Regions from separate parts of the Homo sapiens genome. Here region 2 is linked to region 1. The links are contacts of gene promoters, found by promoter capture Hi-C in human tissues and cell types (Jung and others, 2019). All regions are on one chromosome and are shown on one strand. The core of a region is centred on a gene start or on the middle of the fragment in contact, and the rest is flanking DNA. Distances in the headings are between cores, read along the strand shown.

Region 1 (3,407 bases), core at 396-2,895:
GATCCTGCTGAGGAGCGCGATTCAAACTTCACACAGTTCAGACAGCACAGAAAACCGGTAACCGATCAGAAGCTAAAAATAATCAGATAGAGTGTAACCAGCACTCCCTCTTTCCTTTCCACAGCAGCAACCACAGGATCCTACTAGCACAGATGCCCGGCTGGTCTTTCAAACAGAATCCTCAACGCCCCCCTCCACCACCACCACCACAAGCCTCCAGGGGTCCCAGCTACCTGCATTCCTCCGAGGACCCACATACCAGGTAATGCCTGCCAGCCCAGAGAGCTCCCTCAACTGGGAACTGCAGAGCATTCCTCAAGACAGAGTGCAGCAAGCTGGCATCTCCGTGCCCAGGAGGCACATGGCTTCCACCCCCCTCACACCAGAGCTCCGCAGAAGGGAACCACTCCCTTCGGATACCCTCCACCTCCGGCTCTGCACAGAGACAGCGGAGCAACACAGCCCTGCCTCACCAGAGGAGTCACTCGGGAGAGCCCCAGATGTCTCCTTCCCGCCATGGGCCCTTGGGGAAGATGTTACCTGGGTGGGGTGGGGGCAGGCTGTTGTTCAAAAGTGCATCCATATCCTCCTCCTCACTGCCCGCCGAGCAGGGGGACGGGGAGCCCAGGCCCGACGCCATCCCCTTCCGCTCCCGGCCAGGGAATTGGCCCAGCTGCTCCTGCCGGCGGCCTGAGGACCTCTACACTGGCCCGAGTCACTGTGCGGGGGAGGGGGGAGAAACACAGAACAGTCAGTGACGCGCACTGTCCCCCTCCCCCACACCCACCCGCTCTTTCCGCCCCCCACCCCAGCCACCCTAGCAGGGCACCCGAACCGCTCAGGCTGAACTTAGTTCCACACTCCTCGGGGGCAGCCCGGAAGCCGGCTCCCCGGCAGGCGCCCCCACGGAGCGAGGGAGCGACGCCTCCGAGGGCAGGCTGGTGCAAGCGCGGGGAGGGGAGACGCGGGGCTGGACCGAGCGGGGTGTGACGGGGGAGGGGGTCCGAGTGGCAGCGGCGCGGGGGGGCCAGGGGAGGCCGCAGGCGGCGAGGCGCTCGGGGACACAAGGTCACTTGGGGGTGGGGGGGCGCCTCCCTGCGCCCGGGGAGGGGCCAGTCCCCAGACAGGGCAGCTCTCCAAAGGCTGTCCTCTGGGACAACTCAGGTTCTCCTCAAGAGCTGCGGGGACGAGGGGGCGTGGAGGCTCGGGCGCTGCGGGGGGCCGGAGGCAGGGACGCGGGGGGCGAAAGCGTCCCACCGGGAAGGGGGCCGGGCCACGTGTCCCGGGGGGCAAGTGATCAAAGGGCGAGGGGGTGGGCGCCGGGCATTGTGGGAGACCAAGCCGGAGGCGGGGGGTCGCGGGGAGCAAGACTCCGGCAGGGTTAGGGCGGGGGCTGGGGAGGAGGCCGGGCGCCCTGCAGGGCCAGGAAAGGAAGGGTCGGCTCCTCTGGGCAAGGGGCGGTCCGCGGGTCCGGAGACGCCTGAGGAAGGGGCGGGTGACGGGATGACCCTCGGGGCTGGTAGGGCCGTGAGGGGCGTCTCTTTGGGAACCCCGCGCTCTCCTCACCCCGGAGCCGCCGCAGGTCGCGCTGGGTCCGGCTCGGTGTCACTCCCGCTCCGGCTCCTCCTCGCCGCGGCCGAAGGGGGGAAAATGGCTCCGGCTCCAGCGTCGCCTCTTAAAGGGCCTGAAACACCGGCCGGGAAATCCCACCGCACAGGCCCCGCCCCCCCACGGACAGCCCATAATAACCTCAACCAACTCCAACCCCCCCCTTCCACTACCGCCACCCTCCTCCCCAGGTCTCCCGGGCAACCCCCGCCCCCTCGTCGCTCAGGCAACCACTGGCCACGCCCCCTTCGCAGCGGGCGCGCGCGCGTCACCTGGGCAACCGCCCACCTCCTGGCCATCCCATAATACACACGGACACCCCCCCCCCCAACACACACACACACACACACACACACACACACACACACACACACAACACACACACACCCTGCCCCCCCACATTTCATACACATATGCCAGAGACTGCTGACATCTCAAAATATTGCAGACCTTTTGCAACTAACCCTCTTAGACATCCCATAATAGACATCCTTTGCCAACTTCTTCTTCACTCTTGGACCTAATGCTAACATCCCATAATAATTCATCACCCCTCCCTCCCCATGGCCATCCCATAATAAGCACCCCTCGCAGCACTTATGCCTCATATCCCATAATATTCAGCCCCATCCCCCACAGACATCCCATAATAACCATCCTTCATCCACCCCCAGTTTGATATCCCATAATAGTCAGAAACTCACCCCCCCCCATACTACAACAACGGACACTCGGCCTCCTCCCACACACATCCCGTAATAATCAGTCTCCCACTTTCTATACTGACATCCCATAATAACTAACCCCCTAGAGCTGCCCTCAGTCCCTGCAGGCCAGGGTCTAGAGGCTCACATCACCCCCAGCCTTCCCTCTTCTAGCTCCACAGCCTATAGTAAGTACCCCTCCTCTATCAAAAAGATAACCCATAATGATCAACAGCCCTACTGTCGCCCCACAGATGGACATCTAATCTCTTTTCCTCTAACACTGGAAAGCTATCCCATAATAATTTTACTCTCCTACCCACATCCTGACATCCCATAATAATTGCAAGGAGCCCGTGGTCAACCAAACATACCATAATACTCCCAACACAACCCAGTGTCACATCCCATAATGCTTCATCTCCACTCTACCACCCCTATACCCTTCGAGCCAGGCATCCCATAATATTCATATTCTTCCCACCCCCATCTCCAGGCGCTGTCAGTCTATTCTAACACCCAGAGCAGGGAGGGCCAGGCAGGCTACCCACGCTTCCTTGTCCCCGCCCCCACTTGCACACACCTTAATCCCTTTCTGGGCCAAAGTAGTATCCTGGCAAAAAGCCTCCTGATGTCTGGGACCCCAGCTTCCCTCATACCATCATTTCCAGACACTCGGGGGCTGGGAGCCCACCTAGGGCCCCACCCAGTCCCACCAAAATCTAGGTATTTTCCAGATGCTTACCTCCAGCTCCTAAGTTTTGAGGAACACCAACCAACCAAAATACCAAGCTGACAGATGAAACATTTACATGAAGTCTAATTCACCCTACAGCATCCCATAATAATTACCAACTCCCATCCAAAGACTATCTCTCAACATTCTAGCAATCCTCCCCCTCACCACATCCCCAGGTCAGGGATCTTTCACCAACACCCCCAGGCCATTCCTGGGGATGGACATCCCATCACGATGTGAACTCAGGTTCCTGCTCTATACACACCAAGAGTGAAGGCCTGCCCTCCCGCTACTCACCACTACTCATGTTCATTCAACCTGTGTTGACAGAGTACCTAGCAAGGCCGAGCTCCGCA
Region 2 (3,407 bases), core at 262-2,761, 79 kb before region 1:
GCACGTACCCGCCGGCCTTTTCCATCAGCTTCCATTGCTGGCCTGGCCCCGGATGGGGCCCTGTGTTCCCTCCACTAGAGGCAATGATGTCTTGCAGACAAATAAGACACAGAGCCTTGCAGCGCTGGAGAAAAGTCTGACCTCTGTGACTTTGAACCATTGTCTGGCGTGATCCATCTGTTTACCATATATAGGAAACGATGTCTTCCATGAGGAAGAGGTGCAGAAACACGCTTTGGCAACTTAAAACAAATGGGGACCTCATTGTTCCCCTGCTTAATTCAGGAATCCTTTCTCTTTACAGACACATTTGACAATTCTCTAAATGTTTTTGTAGAATTTGCCCTTCCTCACTTTGTTCATGCAAAACAAAGTATGGGCTGGAATCAAAAATGTTGTCTCTGCTTATCCATGATCCCCAATTTCATTCCCTTTAGAATACGAGCTCTGAGACCACCATGGAGGAGGAGCTGGGGCTGGTTGGGGCAACAGCAGATGACACAGAGGCAGAACTAATCCGTGGCATCTGCGAGATGGAACTGTTGGATGGTAAGAAAAATGGCTGCACTCAGCAGTTTCTTCCCAATTAAGATAACCTGTCCCAAACCTGCAGTTACTCTTCCAACAGGCAAACAGACACTGGCTGCCTTTGTTCCACTCTTGCTTAAAGTCTGTAACAACCCAGGCCTCTATAGCAACCCAGACCTCTCTGCAGCTGCTTCACTTGCCCTTGGCAAGTTCTGCATGATCAGGTAGGCCGTGGGGTTGGTACCCCCTTCTCAAGGAAGATGGGGATGAAATGGCTTCCCTAATGATCCTCTTCTTGCTCTTAGTGCCACTTTCTGCGACTCCCAGCTTCGTCTTCTGTTCACCATGCTGGAAAAGTCTCCACTTCCCATTGTCCGGTCTAACCTCATGGTTGCCACTGGGGATCTGGCCATCCGCTTTCCCAATCTGGTGGACCCCTGGACTCCTCATCTGTATGCTCGGTAAGAGACCCCTCACAACGTGGTGGCAGTTCCCAGGAGCCCCGGAGTCTGTTGAGAGTCAGTGTGAGAATCACCAGGGCTCTTCCCCTAGGCTTTGGCATCACCGCGAACATCTGCTTGATACTTGACCTGTACAGGCCCCTGGCTAAGAGTCACCCCAGTGGGACTGACACTTCTGGTTAGAAGCTTCACCTCTTTCCCCCACTCCAGCTTTCAACTCTAGACAGCTTTCTGACTGCTTCTGGAGTGGCAGAGCATGGGATAATTGATTCCTGCTGAGGGCCTTTTCTACCAGTGTTAGGGTGTAGCCCGGAGGTCTCGGTCCCCATGACCCGCAATTCCATTCCTAGTCTCCGGGACCCTGCTCAGCAAGTGCGGAAAACAGCGGGGCTGGTGATGACCCACCTGATCCTCAAGGACATGGTGAAGGTGAAGGGGCAGGTCAGCGAGATGGCGGTGCTGCTCATCGACCCCGAGCCTCAGATTGCTGCCCTGGCCAAGAACTTCTTCAATGAGCTCTCCCACAAGGTGAGAGGCAGAGAGGCACTGAGGGCTGGCTGCAGAGGGAATCTGTAGGTCACCTCATCTCCTTAACATGGCTCTCTCTGTCTTACAGGGCAACGCAATCTATAATCTCCTTCCAGATATCATCAGCCGCCTGTCAGACCCCGAGCTGGGGGTGGAGGAAGAGCCTTTCCACACCATCATGAAGTATTGCTCCCCGGGCCCTGGGGCACATTTTCCACATAGCACGGGCTTAGGAATCAGACACACCTGTATTTGAATTCCACCTCGGCTACTCTTTAGCTGTACAGCCTTCGGCAATAACTTAGCCTCTCTTTGTGCCTATTTCCTCTTCTTTTGAGGCTGATGATACTTAACCCTTAGTTCTTGAAAATATTAAATACGATAAAGTTCCTAACATGGTGGCAGACATACAGTAGCACTCACTCCCTAGCAGCTGCTCCTGTTAATTTCCATTCACAGTGAAAATTCCTGAGCCGGGGGCGGGGTGGGGTCCCTCTCTGCTGAATGGGACAGGGCAAGGGGAGTGGTGAGGCAGACAGGGGCCGTGGCAGAGAACATCAGAGAAGACGAGTGCTGGGGGAGGGTCCAGGGTTGGTCTTAGTGGATGGCAGAGCTGGCCCTGGGCCATCGAACATCCTCATCTCCCCTTCCTGCAGACAGCTCCTCTCCTACATCACCAAGGACAAGCAGACAGAGAGCCTGGTGGAAAAGCTGTGTCAGCGGTTCCGCACATCCCGGTATGCTGCCCTCCCTGAGGGTTCTTTGTGCTGAGCGGGGCCCTGCAGGGGAGAAAGGCCCATCCCTCACCCCTTCAATGCCCCCACTGTGGCATCCCTGGGACTGGGGAGGCTGATGGGGAAGGTTGAGCCTTTACTAGCTGGATCTCCCAGTTCCTCACAAAGCCCTTCCTATCTGCAGAACTGAGCGGCAGCAGCGAGACCTGGCCTACTGTGTGTCACAGCTGCCCCTCACAGAGCGAGGCCTCCGTAAGATGCTTGACAATTTTGACTGTTTTGGAGACAAACTGTCAGATGAGTCCATCTTCAGTGCTTTTTTGTCAGTTGTAGGCAAGCTGCGACGTGGGGCCAAGCCTGAGGGCAAGGTGAGCAGCACAGGACACTTCAATGCCTGTTGGGTTCTGGGCTGGCTAAGACATCTGCCGGCCCTGGGCAGCATACGGCTCTTGCAGTCACCTTCCCGTCCTCCTTATCCCCAGCTGGGTTGCAACCAAATTGCCAGAGTGACCTAAGACCAGATCTTTGTCTCCAGTTCTTTTTTTATTACTCCAAAAACACAACCAAAGCAGCATCTCATCCAATTCTTGTTTGTTTGTTTTTAATAGTTTTTATTTTTCAGAGCAGTTTTAGGTTCAAAGCAAAATTGAGCAGAAAGTACAGGGAGTTCCCTTCTACCCCTTGCCCCTACACATCACAGCCTTCCCCACCTTCAACATCCTGCACCAGGGTGGCACATTTGTTACAGCTGAACCTACACTTACACATCATCTCCTAAAGTCATGGTTTACCTTGGAGTTCACTGCACGTAATGACATGTACCCACCATTGCAGTATCATACAGAAGAGTTTCACTGCCTTACAAATCCCCTGCACTCCACCTATTTATCCCTCTCTCCCCACAACCCCTGATCTTTTTACTGTTGCCATCACTTTGTCTTTTCCAGAATGTATCATTGGAATGATCCGGTATGGAGCCTTCTCACCTTGGCTTCTTAGTAATGTGCGTTTAAGGCCTCCATGTCTTCCATGGCCTTGTTTCTTTTTAATCAGAAGTAACTGTTTTCAGGCCTGCTCTGAATCTCCTTTTCTCCCTCCAGGCTATAATAGATGAATTTGAGCAGAAGCTTCGGGCCTGTCATACCAGAGGTTTGGA

The links. Contacts are between HindIII fragments. The study calls those that stand out against the background at their distance.
Region 2: a contact is called between a fragment that was not itself captured here and the fragment with the promoter of CHD4 in region 1, in 2 of the 25 tissues and cell types used here (mesendoderm cells and thymus).

Annotation. Positions count from the first base shown.
Region 1 is chr12:6,605,734-6,609,140 of GRCh38, forward strand. CHD4 (chromodomain helicase DNA binding protein 4) reads right to left here and starts at 1,646. Exons shown (of 40, transcript NM_001273.5): 1 at 1,567-1,646; 2 at 541-718. The coding sequence starts at 640. It overlaps LOC124902867 (a long non-coding RNA gene), which reads left to right and starts at 153. Exons shown (of 2, transcript XR_007063193.1): 1 at 153-262; 2 at 3,382-3,407. RefSeq lists enhancers at 217-376, 2,117-2,266 and silencers at 727-776, 957-1,016, 1,427-1,526. The HindIII fragment of the contact is 15,757 bases long and covers 1-3,407 here.
Region 2 is chr12:6,527,340-6,530,746 of GRCh38, forward strand. NCAPD2 (non-SMC condensin I complex subunit D2) reads left to right here. Exons shown (of 32, transcript NM_014865.4): 23 at 438-549; 24 at 629-752; 25 at 834-989; 26 at 1,340-1,517; 27 at 1,606-1,700; 28 at 2,174-2,254; 29 at 2,436-2,619; 30 at 3,352-3,407. Among named protein-coding and RNA genes, the nearest start is that of GAPDH-DT, 5.4 kb to the right of the region's middle. The HindIII fragment of the contact is 4,988 bases long and covers 1-3,407 here.